Regions from separate parts of the Homo sapiens genome. Here regions 1, 3, 4, 5, 6 and 7 are each linked to region 2. The links are contacts of gene promoters, found by promoter capture Hi-C in blood cells and fetal thymus (Javierre and others, 2016). All regions are on one chromosome and are shown on one strand. The core of a region is centred on a gene start or on the middle of the fragment in contact, and the rest is flanking DNA. Distances in the headings are between cores, read along the strand shown. Region 1 has its middle 370 kb from the start of CBLB. Region 2 holds the start of CBLB (Cbl proto-oncogene B). Region 3 has its middle 510 kb from the start of CBLB. Region 4 has its middle 340 kb from the start of CBLB. Region 5 has its middle 360 kb from the start of CBLB. Region 6 has its middle 400 kb from the start of CBLB. Region 7 has its middle 420 kb from the start of CBLB.

What was found. The method cuts DNA at HindIII sites, captures the fragments that hold promoters and counts their contacts. A CHiCAGO score of 5 or more calls a contact.
Region 1: a fragment that was not itself captured here is called in contact with the fragment with the promoter of CBLB in region 2 in 1 of 17 cell types (activated CD4 T cells); the score reaches 7.0 in activated CD4 T cells.
Region 3: a fragment that was not itself captured here is called in contact with the fragment with the promoter of CBLB in region 2 in 2 of 17 cell types (total CD4 T cells and total CD8 T cells); the score reaches 5.4 in total CD4 T cells.
Region 4: a contact is called between a fragment that was not itself captured here and the fragment with the promoter of CBLB in region 2, in 8 of 17 cell types (naive CD8 T cells, activated CD4 T cells, naive CD4 T cells and 5 more). The highest score is 11.8, in naive CD8 T cells.
Region 5: a fragment that was not itself captured here is called in contact with the fragment with the promoter of CBLB in region 2 in 1 of 17 cell types (activated CD4 T cells); the score reaches 6.7 in activated CD4 T cells.
Region 6: a contact is called between a fragment that was not itself captured here and the fragment with the promoter of CBLB in region 2, in 5 of 17 cell types (total CD4 T cells, total B cells, non-activated CD4 T cells and 2 more). The highest score is 8.0, in total CD4 T cells.
Region 7: a contact is called between a fragment that was not itself captured here and the fragment with the promoter of CBLB in region 2, in 1 of 17 cell types (activated CD4 T cells). The highest score is 5.9, in activated CD4 T cells.

Annotation. Positions count from the first base shown.
Region 1 is chr3:106,241,223-106,245,276 of GRCh38, reverse strand. No RefSeq gene overlaps it. Among named protein-coding and RNA genes, the nearest start is that of CBLB, 370 kb to the right of the region's middle. The HindIII fragment of the contact is 1,416 bases long and covers 671-2,086 here.
Region 2 is chr3:105,866,844-105,870,377 of GRCh38, reverse strand. It overlaps CBLB (Cbl proto-oncogene B), which reads left to right and starts at 1,366. Exons shown (of 19, transcript NM_170662.5): 1 at 1,366-1,642; 2 at 2,787-2,968. The coding sequence starts at 2,801. RefSeq lists a silencer at 1,168-1,397 and enhancers at 3,155-3,244, 3,365-3,414, 3,445-3,494. The HindIII fragment of the contact is 9,979 bases long and covers 1-2,051 here.
Region 3 is chr3:106,373,569-106,377,396 of GRCh38, reverse strand. No RefSeq gene overlaps it. Among named protein-coding and RNA genes, the nearest start is that of CBLB, 510 kb to the right of the region's middle. The HindIII fragment of the contact is 4,859 bases long and covers 1-3,828 here.
Region 4 is chr3:106,209,236-106,213,148 of GRCh38, reverse strand. No RefSeq gene overlaps it. Among named protein-coding and RNA genes, the nearest start is that of CBLB, 340 kb to the right of the region's middle. The HindIII fragment of the contact is 5,079 bases long and covers 97-3,913 here.
Region 5 is chr3:106,225,868-106,229,832 of GRCh38, reverse strand. No RefSeq gene overlaps it. Among named protein-coding and RNA genes, the nearest start is that of CBLB, 360 kb to the right of the region's middle. The HindIII fragment of the contact is 3,056 bases long and covers 1,075-3,965 here.
Region 6 is chr3:106,262,460-106,266,417 of GRCh38, reverse strand. No RefSeq gene overlaps it. Among named protein-coding and RNA genes, the nearest start is that of CBLB, 400 kb to the right of the region's middle. The HindIII fragment of the contact is 2,499 bases long and covers 284-2,782 here.
Region 7 is chr3:106,290,260-106,294,066 of GRCh38, reverse strand. No RefSeq gene overlaps it. Among named protein-coding and RNA genes, the nearest start is that of CBLB, 420 kb to the right of the region's middle. The HindIII fragment of the contact is 4,948 bases long and covers 5-3,807 here.

The DNA of each region.
Region 1 (4,054 bases), core at 129-2,628, 370 kb before region 2:
ATAACTAGATACAGAAACTACTCAGTCCTTCAATTATGAGTACTATATAAGTAAATTAAAGGAATCAACATGCATTCTAGAAAAAAGTACAAACAAAAAGCAGTAAAGGAGAAAAGGAATAAAGAAAAAGTGAAATAATGCAAATACCAGAAATCTGTTTTTTCACAGTAGATGAAAATCATGGTCAAATGGCTGGCTATATGTTATCCTATATGAATCAAGAACAAAATAAAAATATAGATGACAAACTATGGAATTTGGGATTATATACTTACAGAACTTTGGGTATTATTCAATCTAGTCTTAATATTTTTAACTTGAGTTTCAGTAGGTGGATCTTGGGGGATGGGATGAAAAGAAGAAATTAAGACCGTCTTCAAAACAAGAAAAAAAGAAGCAGCACAAGGAGAAAAGACACTGTTGGGGAAAAATTAATATGAGAAATGGATGTAAAAATGAGAAGAGTTAATCAAAAAGTCTAAAAAGAGCTCTAAAGAAAACAAATGAAGTAGAAGACAAGCAAAAAAAGAGTCAATATATGAAAAATCTACATTTTCATATAAAATTTTAGTAGATTTTAGATTTTAGTGTGCTAAAGAAGCAAACTAATAAGAGAAATAAATGGTAAAGGTTTACACCTCAAAAAAATTTACCCCAAATTGAAGAAGCTTAAGCAACATAGTTTTAAAAAGCTACATTACAGCCCAGATAAAACTCACAAGAAATAGCAACACAAAGACATATCACAAGAAAATTACAATACTTGAAAGATCAGTAAAGTATTTGAGTAGCAGCCAGACCAAAAATCAAATGCCTTATAACAGGGGAAAAAAATCGTTTTGCTTGTGGCTTCTCCACAGAAACCTTCAACTCATATAAATGCTGTGGAATGAAACCTACAAAATGTTCAAGGAAAGAGTGACCTAAGAATTTTATATTCAGCCTATCCCTCATTATATATACAGGCAACACATAAATATTTTTGAACATGCAGAACTCCAGTATATTTTTCCCATAAACTCTCTTTAGTATCCTACTAGAAGACAAGTATCAGCCAACCAAGAGAAAATTGAATAAATTATAATAAAATAACTGGTGGTGAGTATTGATCATATTTAGCTTGGGACTAAGATTTGAAATATGCAAAAACTAAAGCCTGCAACATAATAAACAATGTTATATGCACTGATAATATAACTAATAAAAATAGTATAACGGAATGTGGCAGGGAAAAAGGATGGGGAATGGAGGTAAACTAAATTGCTGATTTTCTCAGTTTTAAGAGTGGGAGGAGTAATCAGACCTATTATTTAGAAATAAAAATAAATTAGCAGACATACAGGTATGTTTAAGTATGCAAAGATAAGCAAACATTAAGAAAAATAATGCATTGACTGAAACTAAGTGGTGGAGGAAAGAGTAGGGAAAAGAGAAAAGGGAGAAATATGCTAATGTTGTTATTGTTCACAGAAGGAAATTAATAGATACAGTCCCAAGAAAGAGGAGATTAAAGGTATCCTTAAAAAATAAACACTCTAACAAAAACTCAAATCATCTTCTTTATCAGAAATGCACCGTGAATGTATAACATGCACGCACACCTATGCATGAACATGTATATGAAGCCAAGCAAACAGACCACAAAAGATTTTTATAGACATAATAGAACTAAGGTCAAACATGTCTACCATATCAATAACAGCAGATAAACTAAGCTGTTAATTAAAATAATTACTTTCAAATTTGATCTCAAAGTAAAATCCAACTTTATATATTATGCAAGAAACTCCAAATAAACTGACTCAATGTCCACATACAAAAGAGAGACATAATTTTATCAGCCAAAAAAGAAGCAGGAGTTAAGATTTGAATTTCCAACAAGGTTGAATTTAGGCAAAAAGGTGTTATGTGAAAAATACTAATAAGGGTACTTTGTAATGCTAAAGAATGCAAACCACAGTAGAGTTATACACCAAATAACACAAAAAACGTTCAGTCACACAAGAAAATAATCAAATATTGAAAATACAAAATGAAATTTTAATGAAAATATCAAATGCTGATGGGAACATTTAAAATAAAAGCTTTTTACTTCCTGAATAAATTAGAAACTGTATCTATTGCATTCATCAGCACTTTTTTGGTTGCAAGAAACAAAAATTCTGTTTAAGCAAAGTTTACGCTAAAAGCAGCATTCTTTAGAAGATACACGTAACTGTGGCTGGGCTGCACTGAAAACAAGAACCAAAACTGATATGCTGCAAGCAGCAACTTGGTCTCATTGCTGTTTGTCTTCCTTTTCTGCTGAGCACATTCTTCCATGAAGTGGGGAGCCTTGCTGGCAGCTACCTAAGGACCTCACATTTCCACTACCAGAGAGGAACTGAATTGCTGTCTTTGATACACTTTAAAAATCCTAAAGAAGGGTACTCAATAGCCCAGCTTTACTCCAGTGCCCTCCATCCCGGGTCAGTCTGCTATGGCCAGTGGAGACTGTGGCCTCTTTGGTGTAGATTTCCAACCTAAAACAATCACTATGAACAGAGGAGTGAGGAGAATTAAAAGGTGTCTCTCTCAATTTGTCTATTTGATTCCAGTAATTAGAACAGGCAGACAACTTCCTAAAAAACGTAAATATAATTCTGGGCAGAATAAACAACAGGTATATTATGAATCTTTAAAATGTTTATATCTGACAATATTTTTCAGAACTGAACATTGAAAATAATTTAAATGTTTAACACAAGTAGTATATCCATTCAATGTCAGTGACTCAAATTGCTTATAAAGAGTCCATCATTACAGGAAAAGTATTATGATACAAAGTTGGTGAAAAATAGTAATATAATTTTTTAAATTACTAAATTTGAGGCATCCAAAAATACTAGAAGATGCATTAAAATCAGTGGTTTATTTTATATGCTTTTTTCTTTTCCTATACTAAATATGTAATACTTTTATGACAGAATGAAGAAGACTCTTTTTTATATAAAAAAGAATTTTTACCTTTGCCAATTCTTCCTTCCCTCATGTATTTGGGAGAAACCTGGTTGAGGTCATGATTATATCATAAGCAAAGTTTTTCTCGTAAGAGTAATCTAAGAGTCATATTATCATAGTAACTATCAAAGATATGAAGATAAAAGGATATCCTCTCTGTATTCATATTTCTATGATATTTTTTATGTAGGACCACGATGTTATGATAATAATTGCAAAGAACTTTATCGAAGGATCCAAAGGGTAAGAGGGGATGGAGAAGGGCACACATGATCAGAGAGGTGTGAAGATGGATGTAGATTCCTTAAATCCTAAAAGAAAAGGGTCTTCACTACTCTAAGTAGCTTAAATAAGTAAGAAATAGAAATTGTGATATGATTGGAAAATTGAGATTTAAGTGCAGCACGGATAGAGTGCAAGTGCTGTGAATTTAAACACTTTTCCTAGTGTGAAATCTTGTTAAGTGATTCCCTGCTGTGACCTGTACCTTTCGTGCTGCTTATTTAATGAGGAAGTCTTAGAAGAGTGTGTGACATCTTTCTAAGATGAATGGCTTAATGCAAAAGCATCCTTTCTGGGTATTTAGTGTGTCTATTGTAGAATGATTGCTAATTCTTGGGCCAATTTCTGGAATCAGCAGGCATATCATTTTGCAGCTAGCAGTCTGCAGTTTATTCCTACCCTTTTTTTGTTTTTTAACCTCTGTCACAGCCTTGACTTGGCACTGCCAGGGAAACAGGCAGGTACACAAGAGATCTCAGCCCCCAGGACAGTGATAACTTGGAGGAAACACACAAGGCTGGCTTGTTGAGAAAAGATGTAGAGCAAGAGTTTTAGAAACTATTCTAATTTATTCTAACTAGAACCACAGTAATGTAAGCAAAATAATTAAAACAAACAAAAAATAGTACTCAAATAGAAGAGAATGATAGAGCAATGTCTGACCCAGAGGGGCAGCTAAGAAATATTCCAGTAACTCTTTCCCATATTTTCTGTTGGTAAATATATGTACCTAAACACAGTATTTACCTGTCTATCCATCCCCACATATTTG
Region 2 (3,534 bases), core at 117-2,616:
ATTACAGTATTAAAATTCTTAGTTGCTAGAAAGTGGTTAGAACCATTGAGAAACATTTTATCAGGTTACGTGGTTAGAGCAAGATTTGAAAAAACAAAATCAAAAACAAAAAACCCAATGTAAAATATCAGAACATCTGAGATGTCCAAGCTGAAAAGTGTAATAAACGCTATCAACTGTAGTGGAAAGAAAGTTCCAAAGTATGAAGTCCAGAGCAATTGTTGGTAGCATGAGTGGTGGGATTGAAGTAAACTGAAATAAATGGAAGGCATTTGTTTAACCTATGATATTGCTGAAAGACAAGTCCCAGCACAGTAGCTTTCTCCTTTAAAGACTAGCCAGATGTCGGCCTTTTTAAGAGCACAAAGAAGGGAGCCACAGAAAGAGGTAACAATGCTGGTAGAGAATGGCAGCTACAGTAAGGTTGTTTTTAAATGGATAGAAATCTATGTAAAGGTGACTCCGACAAAACACAGTAGCTGTCTCCTCCTCAGTCATTTAGGCAGAAACTTGCACTAAGTAAAAAGGTGCAAGGTATTTATCAGCAATTCCCATTATCTGGTACTTTTATTGCTTTGGCATGATTAGCAGAGACTGTTTGGCCAGCGTTGTCAACTATTTGCTTTTTCATCAGCCTGATGTTTGGTCTGCAATCCCTCTAAAACTAACAGCAAAAGAGAAACTCGGAAACTTGGGAAGTTTCAGTTGGCATTCAGATGTCACCCCAGCCTACTCTCTGTGAGATTTATTCTGCATTTTAGAAGCTCAGTGGCTGTTGCTCTTTTTGATAGCCAACAAGAAGCAACGTCATAGACCTGTTTGGCTGCTGTCCTGGGTAGAAGGGTTTGGCAGCCCTAGGGAGATGAATTTCTCCAGCGTTGGACCCGCCCAGAGCGGAGAAGCAACACCCTTCCAGCCACTACTCTGTTGCTATGAAACAAAAGACTAGGAAGGTAAGCGAAGCAGGAAGTCCCGCCTTTCAGCCCCAGATGGCTTTGGCTCCCGGTCCCGACGCTCACGCCCACCTGCCACCCCTTATTGGTTAGCTCCTTCGTGCCTTGCATCCCTTCGTCCATTTCCTTTCCCGTTTCCACTTTCGTTCCCGGGAGAGTCCAGGCCCCTCATTTCTCTCCGAGTCCAATTCCTTTCTGACGTGCTGCGAGCGGGCCTTCCTCTGGGGCCATTGTGTACTGTGGAGGACGTGGACGGGGCGGCAGCGCGAGGAGGACGGGCGCCTCCCGTCCATTGGCTGCACCCGCTGTCGGGCAGTGCGCGGTTGCGCGGCATTGGCTCAGCGGCGCCCGGCCCCGCCCCCGCCCCGCCCCGCCCCGAGCCTGGGTCCTGTGTGTGCCACAGGGGTGGGGTGTCCAGCGAGCGGTCTCCTCCTCCTGCTAGTGCTGCTGCGGCGTCCCGCGGCCTCCCCGAGTCGGGCGGGAGGGGAGAGCGGGTGTGGATTTGTCTTGACGGTAATTGTTGCGTTTCCACGTCTCGGAGGCCTGCGCGCTGGGTTGCTCCTTCTTCGGGAGCGAGCTGTTCTCAGCGATCCCACTCCCAGCCGGGGCTCCCCACACACACTGGGCTGCGTGCGTGTGGAGTGGGACCCGCGCACACGCGTGTCTCTGGACAGCTACGGCGCCGAAAGGCAAGAAGGGAAGGGGTCGCCGGGGAGGCTCCACACTTCTTGCCGGCCCGGGGGCCCGGGGTAGCCAGGCGCGGGCCAAGGAGGAAGAGGGGACAGCCCTGGCTCTCAGCTGCCTTTGCCGCCGCCGTCCAGTTTGAAGTGGGGCATTTAAAGACCAGAACCCGCAGGCCGGGGAGGAGGGAGAGGGCGTCCAGGCAGACGGCGGTGAGGACTGCAGCAGGCGGCCGGGAGGCGCGTCCACCCAGGCGCCGAGCCCACAGTGTCCCTCCCGCGCCCTAGACGGACGGTGCTGCGGGCACGGGAGGGACACTTTGTCCCCTCCCAGTCCACCTTCCTCCTGCAGCTCAGACCCGAGGGGCCGGGAAGGGGCCTGAGCAGGGAAGGGACACAGGCGTCCTGAAACAAAGCTTTGGGTTGAGGGCAGAGGCGAGGAGCCAGAGAAGTGAACTCCTCCTTTCCGTGGCCGCTCTTGTCATTTTTCTCTTTTCTCTTTTCAAATGGGCTATTTGTGTGTTAATTTCATTTGGTTCTTGGGAATAACGACTCACCGCGTTGATTTAAAGAAAGGTGTTCGTGTGTCCGTACTTGGTGGTTTTAGTGTGGGACATGCCCTGCGCTTTTGTTGACAACAGAGCTGTCCCTTACGTTTGTGTAGGATAATCTTTATGTTTATGTAACTTGGAGAAATCTAACAGAGTGAAAGTGAAGTTTCTGCGTAAGGCTCCCAAAATGTATGATAGGACCTTCAGTTGTTCTGGTATTTTGAATTGGAATTAAGGCAGGAGGGGAAGAACATTCTGTTTTTATCTAGGTGGGGGAAACCTGTTTAAGTTTTGTTTGTTCTTTTTTTTTTTTTTATGAGTTGAGTATTAGTTCAGCCTTAGCTACTTGAAACGTGAGCAGGATGCATCTTTAACTCTTAGTATTGTAAAAGCAAATCTAGGATCACTGCTCTTAAAACTACTGTGTGTAAAGATTGAGAGTGTAAATTCACAAGCTTATTGATAAAGATGAATCCGGAACTTTTGGTTTTGCTCTAATCGATGGAGGAAGATGCAGTGGTACAAGTTAGTCTCTAGTTTTCTGGTGGGTAAATATTTTCAAAACCAACTAACTTTTCTTTTTTTAAATCTGCCTTTTAAAGAACTAAAATTCCAGATGGCAAACTCAATGAATGGCAGAAACCCTGGTGGTCGAGGAGGAAATCCCCGAAAAGGTCGAATTTTGGGTATTATTGATGCTATTCAGGATGCAGTTGGACCCCCTAAGCAAGCTGCCGCAGATCGCAGGACCGTGGAGAAGACTTGGAAGCTCATGGACAAAGTGGTAAGTTCTGTCTGACGTTGCCTGTGCGAAACACTATTCACTTTGTCTGTGGTTTCTCCAGATTTATTTATACTGTTAATTAATACCAACCATTGTTATGGCAACAATCTTTTGATTTCAATTCATCATTTTTCTTCAACTCTGTGTTTTTTGAAAAGTTGGATTCAAAGACTTTTTTGTTTTTTAACCTTTCATCCTTTCTACTCTTTAAGGTTCAGAGTTCCTCTACATGACTCAGTATGTAAAGTTTTACCATTGGCTGCTTTTTGTTGGTGTATGGCCATAGAATGCTTGGAAGTGTTTGTTCTGTCTTCTGTGAGGTTGTGTTGCTCTTAGATAACAAAAGAGTACCAGCAGGTTATTTAAGTCTTTGACCACTCATGACAATCATCTGGTATGATACTGAAAATATTTACTGGGGAAAGAAACAGATTAGTTCTTAAGTGAAGAAGCAGTAGTTGAGGGAGTTTCCATTTTCATCTTTGAGAATTCATCTTCATTAAGAAACTTTTTTTGTTGTTAATGGGAGAGTTAACAGTTTCTTTCATCTACTATTCCATTTTGAA
Region 3 (3,828 bases), core at 172-2,671, 510 kb before region 2:
GGTTAGTACTAAATCAGGAGATATTTTGTTAATGATACATACCAAGCAGTCAACTAAAATGTGGACGGGTCAGAAAAGAATTAATCCTAAGAAATTTGGAGATTAGCATCTCAGATTTCTCCTTGAAGTAACCTCATTATAATTTACTAAGGTGCTCTGCTGAGTCCATAGCTTTATCGTAGGATTCTCACTTACGTACGCAGACATAATGACTTATTTTGACTACATTGGACCTTACAGCCTGCATTTCTATAGCATAAGAAAATAAGTCCTCTAACAAAATAGGGGCATTTCCTCAATAACAGCCCCAGAATTAGGGTGAATGGGTTCCTTAATTTGGAGGTGATTTGATGGAGTATTAGTTATTTTTCTACATAAGAAAGATGTACTATGACAGGGTAGGCTCTGTTGTCTTAGTGAAGGCTGAGTAGGATTATTTGAACATAATATCCTTTTTTTTTGAGATGGAGTCTTGCTCTGTCACCCAGGCTGGAGTGCAGTGGCGCGATCTCACCTCACTGAAACCTCTGCCTCCCGGGTTCAAGCAATTCTCCTGCTTCAGCCTCCCGAGTAGCTGGGAGTACAGGCACACGCCACCATGCCCAGCTAATTTTTTTTTTTTTTTCAATTAGAGACGGGGTTTCACCATATTGACCAGGCTGGTCTCGAACTCCTGACTCCGTGATCTGCCCACCTTGGCCTTCCAAAGTGTTGGGATTACAGGCATGAGCCACAGCGCCCAGTGGAACCTAATGTTCTTAATAATGTTCAGCAGAGATAGAAAGTAATGAGTTGAAGAATTAGCTAAAACCTGTCTATGGTGGTTTTAGATATGTCCACACATTCTTTGACTCTCTTCCCATTGAGAGGTAGGACCTATATGCACCCCATTTATACATCTGACAGGACATGTCTCTGTTTAAACTCAAAAAGTATGGCAGAATTTATGCCATGTAATTTTCACAGCTAGGTTAAAAAAAAGGACACACAGCTTCCATCTGTTTTTCTTGGAACATTCCCTGTTGGAACTCTGAGCTGTCATGTAAGAAATGCCACTACCCCAAAGCTGCTATGCTGTGAGCAATGGAAACCCAGGCCACATGAAGATGCCACGTTTAGGTACATTAAACAACAGCCCCCCACTAGGACTCCAGCCCATAACTGATTTCAACCACTGTGAAATTGTCTCCAGGCAATTCCAGCTCCCACCTCGTGAGTCATCTCCAGCCATGGAGTCCTCCTCGTTGATGCCGCAGACAACACAGACCACAGGCGAGGCATTCTTGCTGTCCCAAAGATGACCAAATTCCTGACCCAAAGATGCTGTAAACAAACAAACAAAAAATGTTTGTTCTGAACCCTAAAATTTTGGAGTAGTCTGTTAAGCAGAAGTAATAACTAGAGCAACCCTCTCTTCCTATCACCTTTTTTTTTTTTCCCATTGATGGCTAGTGAAGATAAAGACTTTGGTGGAAACATGACTTTTGGGAAATTATTTTGAGTGGAGGTGGTTAGAGGTAATGATCTTAGGAAGAAAATGAAGAGAAAGTTGGAAGTCCATGTTTTTGTCCTTTAGCACTATGTACTCTTGCCTTTTAGACTTCTCTTCACATTACTATCAGAGCAACTACTTTTCTCTGTATTATCTCTTTCCTTCTGCCTCTTGTCTTTGTCTCTCTGCTTGTCTCTTTCTTTCTCTGTCTGCTTCTGTCTTTCAAATGCATCATCCACTTTGCACCCCTAGTCACACCATTGCTGTGGTTCACTTTACATTTTCATTTTGTTAAGCTATTTCAGTGGAGTCTCTATGTCATAAAGTAACAAGTAACAGAGGTTTTTTTCTACTCAGTGAAAATCAAAAGCAAAGGAAATGCATCTACTTGACAGACCTGGAGCAGTTAATATCTATCTACTCATAAGGTGTCCACTGCTACAGAAGAAAAAGAAAAAAAAGTTCTTGCTTTCTGTCTAATTGTGGCATCCAGGATTAAATAGGAGTAAAGAGGGATTACTAAAAGCAAGGGGTGGGGAATGATTTTTATAATAAGAAATAAACTTGTGAGCAGTAAAGAGCCCTTTTATTCCAAAAAAAAAAAAGGAATCTAAAGTTTGTGCTTGCATTTTGAAAAAGCAAATGGCAATCGGGTGGCACGAGTCGATGGCAGGAGCATGCAGTGGTACTGACCCCAGAGGCAGGGACACCTTATCCATTAAGTACCCTGGACAGGTTGCCCAGGATTCACAATACTTTTAGGAGCCCATAAAATGTTTTACATTTCTTCAAAATCAGAAGGAAAAAAAGTGAACTTTTATAATAGATGAAAGAAAATATTAAAAAATATTTTAATTACTATCTTTGTATACCAACTGTATCAAAAATAAAATCTTATTGTTTAATGAAGTAAGGGGTTCATGATACTTAGGGTCCGTAAAAGTCATAATGCAGCCTGCTGAGAAAGCCATGTGGGAAAGGACATGGAGGAAATAGGACTGCCCACGCCCTGCTATTATAACGGTAGCTTCAGTGCCCACCTGAAGCAGCAGGTTTTGCATGTCTACAGCTTAGGCCCTTTGAATGGAGTTTCTGCACAGCACTTGTGATCTTTTATGCATCCAATTAGTACAATTTCATAGTATACATGCTTTATTACCGTACTCCTTCATATCTATCTGAGCTAGAATAGAGTCAGGAGTTTGGAAGGAGGAAACATACAAATATACGATTGTTCCTGAGTTTCGGTTATTCCTCAGCAACAGTGTGTGCCTGAGCATTTACCAGACTCATGGGGGAATGAGAAGCTCCCACTGCCGGTGGAAGGAATACTCTTCGGTGATCTTTGTTAAAGACAGTAGCTCTTAACATTCTTTCCATGTCTTCTCAAAGCAGGGACCTCATTTGGTCACATTTTAAAATAGGATATTCAAGGAGCAGTTTGAATACTTTATCAGTTCTTCTCAGGTGCTCATTACCAAGAGGAAACCAGTGAGAATTGCACAATTAAAAATAAACTTTTAAAATCAGTATAATTTGAAGATGATAAATGTGAATATTGGTCATGCCTGTGGAAATATAAACTCAAACAGGGCAAACATAACAGTCTATCACATTATGCATCGTTGCTAAAAAAAAAAAAAAAGCAACAACAACAAACAACCTTTCAAAAAAATCACCTAAGGAGCCTGTCCTACCAAAGCAACTAGAAGAATAAGGTCTCACTGATAAGGCATAGTGGGGAATAGAGAAGGAAGGCTGTTCAGAAGGTCCATCTTGTTCACCTGTACTTTCTCCAGGACTCAGCATAGTGCCTGGTACATACTAGGTACTCAATAAATATTTGTTGAATAAGGAATGAAGCAATGCATAAATATAGGGCTCATTCTAGTATACTTATGTCTAATTCTGCCTTTTTCCTGGTTCTGCCCAGCAGCACACTAGCTTCCTAAAGAGGAGCACCTAAGAAGATCCCTGAGTCTCTTTTACTCATTCCTGCTTCCTCCCTGTAACGTTACCGCCTTGTTACTGACTCTCCCTTTTCTTTTTCTTCTGATCACCACTTACCTCCTGCTCTGATGCTTCCAATGTCTTATTCTGATTGCTCTGCTTCCTGGTTTCAGTTCTCCCATCCTGACTTGATATGCTCATAGATCTAGTTGGAATTATTTATTTTTGACTGATGATTCTTGGTTCATTCTCTCTTGCTGTCCTGCTTCTTAGGCAACCTTCGATCCAACAGAACAATGGGATGCAATCAACTGCTGCCTCTCCCCAAACTTCATAAAGAGCTGAGGGCTTAAATAGGTGTTTTCTACTAGGTTTCTTACCCTCCT
Region 4 (3,913 bases), core at 1,387-3,886, 340 kb before region 2:
GGCAGGACTACCAGTACAATAAAATTTAATGGCTATCTTTAAAGGTTTTGGTATGAGTCATTCTGGGAAAAAATGTTTCAATTTACTTTTCAAGCTTCTGCCTAAAAGGCAGAGAGGAAAACTCACTCTGTCCTCAAAAATCAAGGAAAGTAGTTTAGTAGGCAGAGTACTTGTCATTTGACCCAAAAAACCTCATATTTTTACCAGAGTCAAGATAGAAAAAGATCAATTCAGTCTTTTAAAGAAGCAATGACTCAGAAGACCAATCACATCAGGACAGGACCTGCTGTTCAAACTGCTTAGATTTTACAAGGTGCTATTAGGTATACTTAAAGTTGATTGGCCTATAAATTGGCAACAAAAAATCCCTTGTGGTATTTCAACAAAAGAAGATATTTCTGTGAGTTTTACATGGCTCTCTCTTGGAGAGAGTGGTGAGGAAATTGCGCTTCAGTTCTGTTTCTTCATTCTCTTTTCTACTAGTAGTTTTAGCTCTGTGAGTTTCCTTCTTCAACTAGAAAAAGACAATTGGATTTATCATTACTAGCTCTAATTTTTAAAAAGACCTATAAAGCAAGGTCCTCTTTTCATTGTGACCACTGTTTAATTGATCTTTTCTATATACAACTGAAGTTTTTTTTTGCTGAAGTGTATATGACATGTTTCTTCCACTCAGGTTAAATGTTCTGCTCTCCAGGATAAATGGGAAAATATAAGACTGGAATCAAGCATTAATCCTGAGTGGTTTAGGTATAATATAATTAAAATGTATATGTATCAAAAATATTGATAAAAGCTCTCATTCTTGGAGATTAAATAATGTGTTTGGATGTGATTTTAGTTGTTTGTTTAATAGAAAAATAAATTTATAGCTTACTTTTAGAGATTTTTAGGCAAATAGTATAAGATAGAGATATAAAGTTCAGGCTTTGAAATAGAAAGACTGAGATTAGAATTTTAATTTTACCATTATTAGCCTAAGTTTTTTCATCTGAAAAATAGAGATAATACAAACATTAGATTTTGTTGAAATTGATGAACAAATGTAAATTGTAAACAATTGGTGAAGCAACAAATGTAAAATGTAAAAAGATGAACATCAATTGTAAAAAGTTGATAAACTAACAAAAGTAAAAAAAATGAACTAACATAGTGCTTTATGTGTAGGAGTTTCAATAAATACTATTATAATCAAAGCAAGCTGTCAGAGACCATCATTGCTTTTATCTGAACAGAGCAAAATATCAACTGCTAGAGCTCTCAGATTCTTCCAAGATCCATCCTGTGCAATTTTCAGCAGTTTGCAACCCAGTCACAGGCTTCCTTTTTCACTGGACCTTAGAATCCATTCAGATCTCAACTTGCACAGGGCCACACACCCCCTGCAAAGATGCCTGAGCTAAATTTCTACTAGCCTCAGCAACCTTACACCAATGCTATCCTCGAGCATTGAACAGTTCTCTGGACACCTGCAGCGAAGGTAGTTTTCAGCAGTTCTGGTTGAAAATCATTTTCACATTTCCATTATTTCGGGATTTTGTCTGGTTATTATCTCAGTGCCCCTCCTATCATGGTATTCTTATTTTTCATGTTCTTGACTCAATTACTTCCTTCCAAGTATTTCCATTGCACTGACTGAAAATGCATACAGTTCTATTTTCCTTTTTACTACCATTTATCGATTTCCTGGAGTCTCATTTATATTTATTGAAATACATGAATCATGTCTCATAATTTATCTCACTTACATGGTATCATGCAACTTGGAAGTAGAGATCATAAACTAGTTTCTAAGGATTCTGTCATCCTGAGTACTTTCCATTTCTACCTAGATGACCTACTTGATAAAACGGCTTCACTATTTCTTGAAGTCTACTAACTCCATTCAACTTCACCCATGCCTGCACACAAACTGGAACCCAGATTTTCTTATTACCTTTCCCTAGCATTCTTTCTACTTCACAAAGTTGCCTGTCTCCAAAAGCAGTGGCCGATTAAATGAAACCATATATGTTAGGCAACTAGCTCTGTTTCTGGCATGTTAAACAGCAGCTAAAAATAAACTAGTCAACTTTTCCCTCCAGTCTCAATTTCGGTAGGTGAACATATTCCTCCATGCAACCTTAAATTACATATTTAAATGATACTACTCAGAATGTCATATATCATGTAGGAAATTGTAAACTTGCCATTACAAATAATAGACTATACTCAAAACAAAACAGTTATTATCCATTCACGCATATCATGCTTATGTCTGTTTCTTTTCTTTTGTGAAAATAACTTCTTACTTTTCAAAATATGTGATTATGCAAAAGTTTCAAGCAAAATTTTCATATTTACCTTCAACAAATAGATCCTGTACTGAGTCATTCTGGGGGATTAAATAATGTTTGGATGTGATTTGTAGTTGTTTACTTCAATCGAAAAAATAATTTGTAATGTTTACTTTTAGAATCAAAGTTAGAAATATCCTTTAAAGTTCATCTAGACCTGTTCAGTGTTCTAAAACAGTGACAAGATGGTCTTTAAAATGAAGATCTGTACCAGTGACAATAGCCTGTTTCCTCCCAAAATCTTTCAGCGTAACACTGCAAAGAGCATTAGTAGAAAGGAAAATACCTAATTTCTACTCTCTGATGTAATCTTCATCTTTATGTGAAGAGCACAAAGATGACTTAGTGTTGCCACAAGAGTGTTCCCATCATATCTCTCAAGGGATGATAAACGTCAGTTGTACTCACCCCGAATTATATTATTTTTGGCTTCCTTCATAAATCAAACCTGAAACACTATTGATGTGTTATTATAAAAGAAAATATATAAACTAGGGAAAATATTAGCAAATTGGAAATTCTCAGCATATTGCAATATGTTTAAATGCCTCACTAGAGACTTACCTGGAATTCATGTTATTATGATTTGTTTTTATGTTCTTGTTTTCTATTCATCGCCTATTGATCGATTGACATTTCTCAGTCATTGAAAGGCCTTGCTCCTGCTCATGCTCGAAGCATGAGGAGAAAACAAACAGCAATTCACCATTCTTCTTGTTTTTCTACCTAATAGAAGGTAATGGGTTTTTCTAGAAAACTGGTTCTTGCTGGCTAACTTTCTACCTAAACGCCATGAGCTTTCTTTTAATCTTTAAGGCTCATATAATTGTATATTCAGTAGGATAAAAAAATTTGAATGCTTTTGATGGACTTCCAAGGACATGAACTCAGGGATATTATTGATGTTTTCATCTTTGCCATATCCCTGATTCCTTTGTACCTTGTACATGCTTTTGACATCTTTAATGACCACTAAAATCTCTTCAAATACAGTACATTAATTATATGTATATTCCAATACATTTGGTTTTTTTATGGCTATTGAAATACTGCATGTTGACGTGGACAATAAAAGTCAAATGGGCATTTTTTTCTCATGGTCTAATAATAGTGAAACAAGAAGTTACCACTACAATTTTAATTGTTTAAAGTTACAAATTGCATGCCTTACATTCCACTTAGGCAGTCAACATTTGTAGAAACTATTAAAGTCATTGTTATAGTGAATTTTTAACTTTGAATATATATAAGGAGAAATAAAACAACCAGTGAAAACATATACAAAGGTAACTCTTGGCTGTCTTTCTGCCCTGTTCACATCTTCCTTAGCACCTAAGAAAGTAAAGTAAGCTATATGGAATTTGTGCCCCTGTAGGTAAAGCATGAAGAAAAATTCTCTCTCAGTCTCCAAGGGATAAAATAATGTTTGAGAGAAAATATATAAAACTCTCTCTAATACCTCAAAGTAACTGAGCAAATTTTTCTTACTTTTCTTCTCCTTTAGTTCAGATTTTTTGAAAGAAAAGTTAATCAAACTAGGAATTATATAGTGAAAAACAATTACGTTTTTCACTTAA
Region 5 (3,965 bases), core at 1,353-3,852, 360 kb before region 2:
CAGCATGCATGCACATAATACACACACACACACACACACACACACACGAAGAGAGAGAGAGAGAGAAGTGCTCCAGTCACTTGCTTCTAGACTTTCCTTTAAAAGGCCTTTCTGATTAGGCCAGGCCCACCTAGGACAATCTTCCTTTTGGATAACAAGGATCACTCAATAGGAGCGTTAATTACATCTGCAAAATCCCCTCACTTTTGCCATATAATGTAACAAACTCAAGGAGTGATGTTCCATAAACCTTGCCATATTCTGTTGGTTAGAAGCAAGTTCCACATCCCTCCCAACTCAAAAGGAAAGGGGACACACAAGGGTGTGGATGCTAGGGGTCAGGAATCATGAGTGCCATATAGGAATTCTGCTTCCCACAGTAAGTAATCGCTAAAACTATAAAATCAAAAAGCAATATAATTGTGTGGGTGTTTTAATATGGAGGCAATATCTAAAGAATCGGCTAAAATGTATGAAAGTAATTGTCACTATAGAGAAGTATGTAGAGCAAGGTTAATTAATTTTGTAATTATTTGGCTCTTTATGTGCAGGCATATGTTGTTTCATTTTAATTGGATTTTATTTTTATCAAATGATTGTAATGTGGTAATTGTATAGAAGATGCTTAAAATTTTCTCGAATAATAAAAAGGAATGAGAGCAAAAAAAAAAAAAAAAACCAAAAAAAAACAATGGGCTGGAAAGCAATTCCTTAGAAAAGATATGGGAGTTTTTGTTGACTGTGAGCTCCAAATAAGTCAATGATGAAATATTTTTGCTATTAAAAAATTAGACACAATCTCAGGCTTCCATTCATAGAAATATGAATAAATGGGAAAAATAATTGTCCTACATTATCCTTCACTGAAAATTCCATATTCGAAATTGTGTTCATTTCTAGGTGCCTAATTTAATTCTATTTTTCTATTACTGTAACATTGATGGTTTATTTTTCTTATGGAATCAATACATAGTCTCCATAAAAAACTTTAGAAAATAGTAAAAAAGGGAAAATATGCAAAGTTGATACTTGAAAACAAATATCACAAACATTTTGGTGCTGAACTTTTAAGCTTTTTTCTCCATATAGATATATGTATATTGTATATATATACTATATACATAGTTTGGATGCTGCTTTTTTAACTTAATAGCATATTTTATACTTCTATTTCTAGCCAAGATTAAAAAACATGGACCAAAGAAACCCTCATTTTTAAAACAACTAAAAACCAGCCAACATATATGAGACAACAGTTGGGATATTGGTATCAGTCAAGAAGAGACAGTGATCCATGAGAGATAGGAAACAAACATGCGAGCCCTGTGATTTACTGTCTTACTGGGTGGAGAGAAGTTCAAAGCCACAGAACAAGGAAGACGAACTCAGGCAGAACCTGGTGATTCTTTGAATGGAACTGAGGGTTCCAAGAATCAGAGAAGCCCAGGCAGCTGGGATTTTGGGGGCAGCATTTTAGAGAAGAGTTCTTGAGAAAAGAGAACTACATATAAAGAGAACTCTTGTGATTTTCAGAGGGAGTGCCCCTACAATATTCAGCTGAACTCAAAACTGTGAGCCACAGAAAGTTCTAGGACAAGATGGCTTTGTTTATAATGCTGTCAAACATTTAAGGAAAAAAGAATAATATAAACTCACTAAAATTTTTCTATTGCATAAAAAAATAGATACATGCCAATTTATATTAAGGGCCAGCATTATCATAATAAGAAAATAAAACTACAAACAAATTATGTCATAAACACAGATACAAATTTAACTTTGCAAACTTAAATCATGTTCAGAAAATATTGTATTCATTTATTTTTTTTAATTTCTAATAATTTCAACTTTTATTTTAGATTCAGGGAGTACACGGGTAGGTTTGTTATACAAATTATCCCATCATTCAGGTAATGAACATAGTACCCAATAGGTTGTTTTTTAGCCCTTACCCTCTTTGCCCACCCCCCAGTAGTTCTCAGTGTCTATTTTTCTCGTCTTTATGTCTATAGGTACCTAATGTCTAGTTGCCATTTATAAGTGATAACGTGGTGTTTGGTTTTCTGTTCCTATGTTAATTCGCATAGGATGATGGCCTCCAGCTGCATTCACATTGTGGCTGCAAAGGACATGATTTTGTGCTTTTTTAAGGCTGTGTAGTATTTCATGGTGTATAATTATCACGTTTTCTTTATTCAATCCCCCATTGATGGGCATCTGGGCTGATTTTCTGTCTTTGCTATTGTGAATAGTGCTGTGATGAATATGTGAATGCATGTGTATTTTGTAGAAAGATTTATTTTCTTTTGGGTATACCCAGTAATAGGACTGCTGGGTTGAATAATATTTCTGGTTTTAGTTCTTTAATAAATCTCTAAACTGCTCTGCACAGTGGCTGAACTTTACATTCCAGCCAACAGTATACTCCCACCAACAGTATACAAGCATTTCCTTTTCTCCGCAGCATTGCCAGCAACTCTTATTTACATTCCCACCAACAGTATATAAGCATTCTCTTTTTGTCATATTCTTGTCAGCACCTGTCATTTTTTGGTTTTTTTTTTTTTAATAATAGTCATTCTGACTGGTGTGAGACGGTATTTCACTGTGGTTTTGAACCGCATTTCTGATGATTAGTGATGTTGAGCATTTTTTCATGTTTGTTGATTACTTGTATGTCATCTTTGAAGAAGTGTTTATTAATGTCCTGTGCTCACTTTTTAATGGGGTCATTTTTTTTTAAGTATTGAATTAAGTTCCTTGTAGATTCTGGATATGAGACCTTTGTCAGATACAAAGTTTGCAAAGATTTTCTCTCATTCTTTGGGTTGTCTGTTTACTCTGTTGATAGTTTCTTTTGCTGTGCAGAATCTCTTTAGTTTAATTAGGTCCCACTTACTAATTTTTGGTTTTGTTGCTATTTTTTTGAGGACTTAGTCATAATTTTTTTGCCAAGGTCAATGTTCAGAAGGGTATTTCCTAGTTTTTTTTCTAGAACTTTTACAATTTGAGGTCTTTTCTTTAATTATTTAATCCATCTTGAGTTGATATTTGTACACAGTGAAAAGTAGGGGCCTGGTTTCATTCTTCTACATATGGCTTGCCAGTTATTCCAGTACTGTTTATTAAACAGAAAGTGTTTTCTCCTTTGCTTATTTTTGTTGACTTTGTTGAAGACCAGATTGGTTTCAGCTTACTTCTGGGTTCTCTATTCTGTTCCACTGGTCTATGTGTCTGTTTTTGTACCAGTACCATACTGTTTCGGTTATTATAGCCTTATAGTATAGTTTGAAGCCAGGTAATGTGATGTCTCCAGCTTTGTTCTTCTTATTTAGGATTCCTTTAGCTCTTGGACTCTTTTTTAGTTTTATCAAAAAGCATTTTGAAAGATAATACATCTTGACCAAGGCAATTAGCCAAGGAATACAAATGGTGTTTAACATTAAAAATAAATCAAAGTAATTTATCCTATTAATATTTTTTTAAAAAGGAAACCATATGGTATCTCAAGAGATATAGAAAAAAAATCTATGAACATTATCCAACATTCATTCTTGATAAAAGCACTCAGCAGACTAAGACTTAGAGATACTTGTTTTTGAACCAAATAAAGTACACCTATGAAAAACTACAGCTAAAATCATAATTAATAGTGAAAAATTAAATATTCTTCCCTGAAGATTAGAAACAAGATAAATATTTCTGCTTTCACCATTTCTATTCAACAGGATTAAGGTAGCTCCAGTTAGTGCAATACAGAAAATAAATAAATAAATAAATAAATAAATAAATAAATGGCATTCACGTTTGGAAAGAGGAGGTAAAACTATTTTTAAAAAGTTTTTTTCATGACCCTATTGTCAGTGTAGAAAGTCCTATTGAATTCACCATAAAAATCCTCAAAAAACCTACTATAAGTAATAAATGAATTTATTCAGGTTGTAGAATTCAGATCAATATACTAA
Region 6 (3,958 bases), core at 284-2,783, 400 kb before region 2:
TGATGAATTTTCACATGATGAATGCACCAGTATAACAAAAAACTAGATTAAGCTGCAGGACTTTTCTATTACCAGTGTCCTAGAACTCCCCTGTGTACTCTCTCCCAGAGCCTCCTTGGGAGCATTTCTTTAAAGAATCCTCATCTCAAGGTCTGCTTCTGGGAAATCCAACTTAAGACAGTGAGGATTAAGTTGGATTTTTTCTTTTACTTTACTTTTCCATTCCCCAATACCTCCAAAAGCCATCTTTGAGAGAAGAGGAGGAAGTCAAAGAGGTTAAGCTTTACCCTAAATAATTGTAATCAGAAGTTGTTTTTTGAATATACTAAATGATTAAACTGAAAAGAGATGACTAGAACTGGAAAATATTAAAAGAACAATGGGCACGTGTACATTGTCACAGCTATCCAAGGTGTAGAGGGACTATCAGAAAAGTCAAAGCATGTATAGAGAAATAAAGCCACTACGAATTTCCTGCATATCTGATGCTATCTGAGCTCATCAGATAACCCCTCCAGAGACACTCTATAATAGAGTGTGGAGTTCAGTGACTGGCACATAGCCATGCCCATTGAAGGGCAGTTATTCAATGCTGCCTAGGACTGTGAACCCCATGGAAGTAATTTAACTTCTATTGGCCTTTGAGTCTCCAACTATATAAATAAAGGGAGAAAATGCTGAAAAAAACGCTGAATTGCTGTAGTTTTCATATCAATAGCAACCTAATTGTAACTGGTTCCAAGAATTTCCACTTTCACATCAGAAAAGGCAAATGGTTATTCTTATTAATAACCAGCACAACATAGGTTCGGCCCTAGAGAGCTGTGATAAAGTCCCTGTGACTGGCTTCCGGAAGGCAGAGAAAGGGCTCAAGTTCCCCTGTGGTCATCAGCTGCCTAGGACTGCCAGGGTAATCTGTGAGGAGGTAAATCAGTCCCTTGCTGGAAGAGTGTGCCCAGATGTCCCTTTAATCATAAGCTAAATTTCCTATCCTTTGAAAAAGATCTGCATATGGTCAGCTGTAGACTAATAGTTGGAGAGGGCTGCTTTAAAAATCTGATCATCTAAGATGCTGCAGTGAAAAGGGTTAGGTAAAAAGAGACTAGAGCTAATGAATCATGCTAGTGAGATTGTTCTACAGTCCAGTATTCAATCTCAACATTGTCAAAAATTATGGGATGGTAAAACCCACCTCAACAGAAATAAGTTCAAAGCTCCTTTGCTTAATATTCAAGATCATTCATGATCTGGCTTGTCATTCTCCTCCAAAGGCATTTCCCACCAATTCTGTTGGCTATTGGGTCACAAAATATTAGTCTGCTATTCCCTCAAGAGAACTCCTGTAATTTTCACCTGCTATTCTTTATTATGAACTTTTTATCTACTTCATATTCCAAAATTCCCATGTTTTCTTTTAAGAGTCAGACTCAATAATCAAGTGGATTGGATCATGAGCTTTTTAAAAATGGAGCTATAAAAGACAGTTTGTGTAATAAGTGGGGAATTTGATTATGGCCTGAATATTAGATGAAGTAGGGAAGTATTGCTGATGATATTATGGTTATGTGAGAGAAGTTCTTACTTTTAGTAACTGCACATGAATTAAGAGAGAATGGTTGATGTCTGTAACTTATGGGTCAGAAAAAAGTACAGAGGGAAGATAAAGCAAATATAGAATGTTAAAAATTGTTGACTCTAAATGGTAACTACTCAGGTGTTCATCGAATTAATTTTTTTCAACTTTATGTTTTAAAATTTTTGTAATGAAAATTTGGGGTGGGCTAAACAAAGTAAGTCCCTCATATTATACTAAACCAAATATAAGTAATACGTTGACTTCTTTAGATTTACCTCAAATGTCATCACCTCAGTGAAGCCTGTCTTGAACTCTGCATTTGGAGGACCACATCTTACCCAAGCCCTAGTACCTGTTGCAGTGTAGGGCATTTTTGTTGACATATATGCAACAGAATAATTTGTCAACATTTTTTTTTTGTTTGAGTCTCACTATTTTTTCCTCTCTCACTGCCTAGAGATAAGCAGGACTTAGGGCATTTTCGTCCAAAATGCCAAACTTTGGGAAAGTGCCTTGTTGAACTGTACAGTCATATAAGTGTATTCAGTCAAATTACTGGTACAGAAAATAACTTCTGTTAGAGTTTGGAATACCCCAATACTGGAAACTTGGGTAATGACAGATGGTTTTATGAAAAAAGTGGTAAACAAGAAGAGTATTGAGAAGTGACATACAATTTGGATTGGGAGAAGGTATTCCTGGTAGCGTAAATGGTTTGGATACCGTGGAAGACAGAATGGCCAAAGTCTGTATGAAAACAAATATAATTTATTTATTCATTCAGCAACTATATACTGTTACTCATTTATTCATTCATTGGTACTCATTTATTCATTCAGCAACTATATATTGGTATATATTGAATAAAGCAATGTGCTAGGGACTGAAAATATAATGGTAAGCAAAATAAACATTGCCTGATGTTCCAGATTAGAGGTTGGCAAACTTCAGAGCTGTGGGCCAAATATAGCCTACTACTTATTTTTACAAATAAAGTTTTGATAAAACACAACCACACTCATTCATTTACATTTTGTGTATGGCTGCTTTTGGACTACAACAAGGTTGAGTAGTTGCAACAGAGTCTAAAGTACTGACTTCTTATCTTTTGAAGAAAAAAAAATGCTGACCCTTGCCCTAGAGCACACAACATTAAGAGGAGACAGATATTAGTTAAATAACTACAACTAAATTAAAAATGAAGCTTTGATAAGGGCCAGGAATGTGAAATATGTGGCACCATGGAAGCACATAATAAAGACATTTGACTTAATAGGAGCAATAACAGAAGATTCTTTAAATAATTTAAAATTAAGGTCAAAGCTAAAGGGAGCAGGAACTGATCCAATGAAACACAAAAAGAACAGTGCAAGCAGAGAGAATATCACATGCAGAGACCGTGCAGGAATACAGTAACTTTGAAGGAAGGAAAAAACTGCACTGCGGCTGTAGTTCAAAGGGTGAGGGAAACATGGTACAAGATGAGACTGAAGAGGAAGGAAAAGGCCAAACTACACAGGATTTAAAAGGCCAGGTTGGGAGATTGTCTTTAAACTTAGAGTAAAGGGAATCCCCTTATGTGTTTTAAACTGATGAACGATACGATCTGTTACACTCTGAAAACGTCACCCAAAGTTCATGTGGAGAAAAGATAGGAATGCTGCAATAGCATATATATATAGACTAGTTATGCAACTTTGTTAGCTCTCTATGTGTCAATTCAGCCAGCCTGGAACTATATTTCTCATGTGGTTCTCGGCAGCATTGGCCACAAAAGATATTTTCCATGAGAAGACAGAAGTGCAGAAGCAGCCATATGTTTTAAGTTCTGAAGAGCAATAGCAGTATGGCAACTCATACTCATTGTGATTGATCTATCAGTTCACCTTATTGGCATGGGGCAGCACCAAGACCCACAGTGTCTTTGACTCCCATAAGATTTCCTCCTTTTGTTTCTCTTCTTCAGTAATTTCAAAATTTATTTTAGATTCAGGGGGTATGTGTGCAGGTTCATTACATGAGTATATTGTGTGATGCTGAGGTTTGGAGTATGGATGATTCCATTACCCAGGTAATGAGCATAGTACCCAATAGGTAGTTTTTCAACCCTTGCAGGCTTCATCTCGCCCCTCTCTAGTAGTCTCCAGTGCCTAATATTGTTTCCATCTTTATGACCATGTGTACCCAAGGCTTAGCTCCCACTTACAAGTGAGAACATGCAGTGTTTGGTTTACTGTTCCTGCTAATTCACTTAAGATAATGGCCTCCAACTTCATCCGTGTTGCTGCAAAAGACATGATTTCATTTTTTTATGGCTGTGCAGTATTCCATGATATATATGTACCACATTTTCTTCAATCCCCCATTGATGGACATCTAGAT
Region 7 (3,807 bases), core at 1,229-3,728, 420 kb before region 2:
AGCTTTCTTTCTTTTTTTATATTAAAAATGTATGTTATACATAAAACACACATTTAAAACTACATAACTCTGAAGACAGGAATTGAAGCAATTTGACTATTTTTTTAAGGATTAGAGTTAAGATCGAGGGATAAACATAATTAAGATTAAAGATTATGCCTCAGAATACTAATATATCAGATTGTTCTCAGTGCCTTCCAATGTTTTATCAGTTTGGTAATACACATTAGAAGAGTGAATATTCAGCGGCCTGTTAACTACTCTCTTTGCAAAGTTGACATTGGATATGAGAGTTTACTTTGCAGGAAAGTCTTGTTTTAAAATTAGCATCCTGTAAAGTGAAAGCTGATCTGCATTATGCATGAGTAGATCAAGGTGGTACTCTTCCATAATCTTTAACTTTCGGGGCACAAAATAATATTTCTTAGCCTTAGTTTGCTTTTATGTAAAATGAGAGTCTATATTATTCTAGTTTCTTAAATCATAGGTCTTTCCTTTGAGTCTATGATTGATTTTACTTAGATTCAGTGATATGTACCATCTGTGATTACATATTTGCCAAAATTTTCTATCAACGTGTGGCAGATTTCTTGAATATTTATATTGGGCTATTTTTGCTGAATCCTAGGATATCTGCAAAAAACAGATCTGGGGTATCTCAAAAAAAATGTCAACTCTCTAGGACTTTGGGATTAAGCCCTCCAAAAACTCAACCCAGATAGCAGAACGCTTTCACCCTCTTTATGCTTACCACACCCAGAACCAAAGTTCCAGAGGGCTTGGAACTTTGACGCAAGTCCTCTATTAAACATTTTTTTTTGGCATGTTTGGGGAGTGGGAAAGAAAGAACAAATGAATTTTAGAATGAATATACTCATGGATGCATATCTAATATTTGATATACTTTTATTTAAAAAATACAAATAATCATCTTTGATTTTCTAATATGAAAAAAACGACAGAAGAATTTCAAATCTCTAGATCTCAACCTTTTCATCTGTAAAACATTGAATTAGATGTGTTGAAAAGATACACTAAAATCCCTTCCAGCTTTAATGCTTTTCATTGACTGGAACACAAATTCTTCTAAGCCTTTTAAAGATTAATGGCTATTGGACCTAGCTTCCACAGAGTATGCATTACATAGCATAGAAGAAGAAATACAAATTTTGAGGAAGGAATTGAGGTATAATGGTAATACAGGTTTCAACAACCACAGCAACATGCATTTGTCTGGCACTTCTAAGTTTGAAAGTGTTTTTTATATATGATTGCTTCTTCAGTCATCCCCTAAACTATATAGGTAATTCCCTAAATGATATAGTTATTGCAGATAAAATTTTCCTTATTTTGCAGAACAGGGGATTGAAATTCAAGGAGTCTAAATGACTCAGAAAATAAAACATGTTAGAATCAATATACTCACTTGATTTCTGCAGTAGTCTGAGACACGTAAGTTTCAGAAAACAAACAAACAAACAAACAAAAAACAACAAAAAAAACACAAACACCTGAATAGCTTGTTAACGTTTGCAGTTCTAGGCTCTATCTCCAAATAATCTCATTTAATAAGACTAAGCCCAATATTCTATCTTCAACTAACCTCTCATGGTTATGAATAATACTCCCCTACATCTTCTGTGTATGCCAGATACTATTTTCATTTATTTTTCTCTCAGCTTTGAAAAATAGGCTACATTTCATCTTCTGGCATCTTATGTATGAAAATACTGTTTCTGAAAGACAGCTTATCAGAGACATCATATTGTCACCTTTTGTTATAATTATTTTTCAGGTTTTTTGCTATTAGAATACCAAACAAATTGTTTTTCACCTAGTTGTCACCTCATAGAAATGTACTGTAACATCTTACTGCATGGCAAAAAAATTCTTAGCTTGGCATTCAAGACAGTTCATCAGTGCTTACTCTGTTTCTGTAATAGGCCTCTCTGATATAAATATTTCTATTTCAATGTTCCTCCTCTCCATGTTGGCTATAGCATGATGTCACACTTGCTCCAACTGAGATTATGCACAAAAGGATTTTAATATAAGAGTTACCAAATGAATCACAGAATGAGATAAGCCTCATTGGGTTGTCCAAAGCCATTAAAATTGTCTGAACTGACCCAGAAGACATCGTATTTCACCTTAACCATTGGTCTTGACCCTTCACGGAAAAGGACTTGGGCATTGTGAGTGAGCAGATTCTTCTGTTCTTCATCAGTATTCAGAAGAAGGAATGCTTATAATTTACAAATTTATTTATTTATTATTTTTATTATTATTATTTTTGAGGCAGAGTCTCACTCTCTCACCCAGGCTGGAGTGCAGTGGCCTGATCTCGGCTCACTGCAACCTCTGCCTCCTGGTTCAAGCAATTCTCCTGCCTCAGCCTCCCAAGTAGCTGGGCCTACAGGCACGCACCGCAATGCTCAGCTAATTTTGGTATTTTTTAGTAGAGACAGAGTTTTACCATTTTGGCCAGGCTGGTCTCGAATTCCTGACCTCGGGTCCTGCCTTGGCCTCCCAAAGTGCTGGGATCACAGACATGAGCCACCATACCCGGCCTGAAATGCTTATAATTTTAGAATAATTAAAATCACCAAAGGAGCTAGTCTTCCTTTTGAGCTTAGGTTGTAAGGTGGCTGATAGTCCCATTCATTCAACACAAATTAAACTTTCCAGGTTGTAGAGGATAAGTGAAAGAAAGGACAATCAAAACAGAAAGCAAATATGCACATGGACATACATGTATACATGTATGCATATATGCAGCAAGGAGGCTCTACATATGTGTGTGTGTGTATATATATACACACATACAAATATATACAGGTATATATGATGTGTTTATATGATAAAATTCCATTCACAAATGCTTTTATGTTACTAATGTTTCTATTATTTACACATAAACATTTTAGAACAGAGTTGAATATACAAAGTAATGGATACCGTACTCTATTGGAAATTAAGTATACTTTCAAGGATAATTTTATTTGATTTCTAGCACATACATTGTTAGAAATTAACCCCAGCCAAAATATGGAACACTACTGTATGCTGAGTATCCCTGCTTCATGTCTTTCTCCCCACCAGTTTCTCCTAGATATGCTGATTTGAAATAAAATAAAATGGTGAAGTTCTCTTTCCTATGCTATTGCCTCAAAAAAGATTTGAAAAGGAAAGTAAAAATGATTTAAAGGTTGTACCATTTTTATTTCTCACTACAGCCCTGAGAGCTAGAGGAAGTTATGATGTAAGTGGAAGGGGCAAGACCACACACATGCATGGCACCATCCCAGGAAGGTTTTGAGACCCAGTGGGGAGTGTCTTCACTATGCACCTAAGGAAGCTGGAGACCAGGCCCCAAGGTCTCAAAACACTCAGAGTGTCTGGGCACACCTGTATGGCAGTGGAAGTAAAGCTGGTAGATATTAACATTAATTGACTGATGAGAAGACTCAGAACATAAACACCTCAGATGAACTAGCAAGAAGGGCAGACTAGAGAGGCCTTCTCAATCGTGCTTTGTGAAAACCTGAGACCTACAGCTGCCAGTGGTGGAGATGAGCAGAAGATGCAGTAATGACTAATATTAAATTTCCCACTGATCCAGCAAGATTAAGTCATGGGATCCATTTAAGTTGACTACACAAACAAAAATGAAGAATGTGATGGTTCTTTCTCATCAGAGTTTCACATGAAAGTTAAGATTCACTTGTTTTTCACATTGAGCTCTTTATGCTTTCTGCCTTTAATTCAAGGTCTATTTTACATTTCTATTATTATCTATTTGTGATC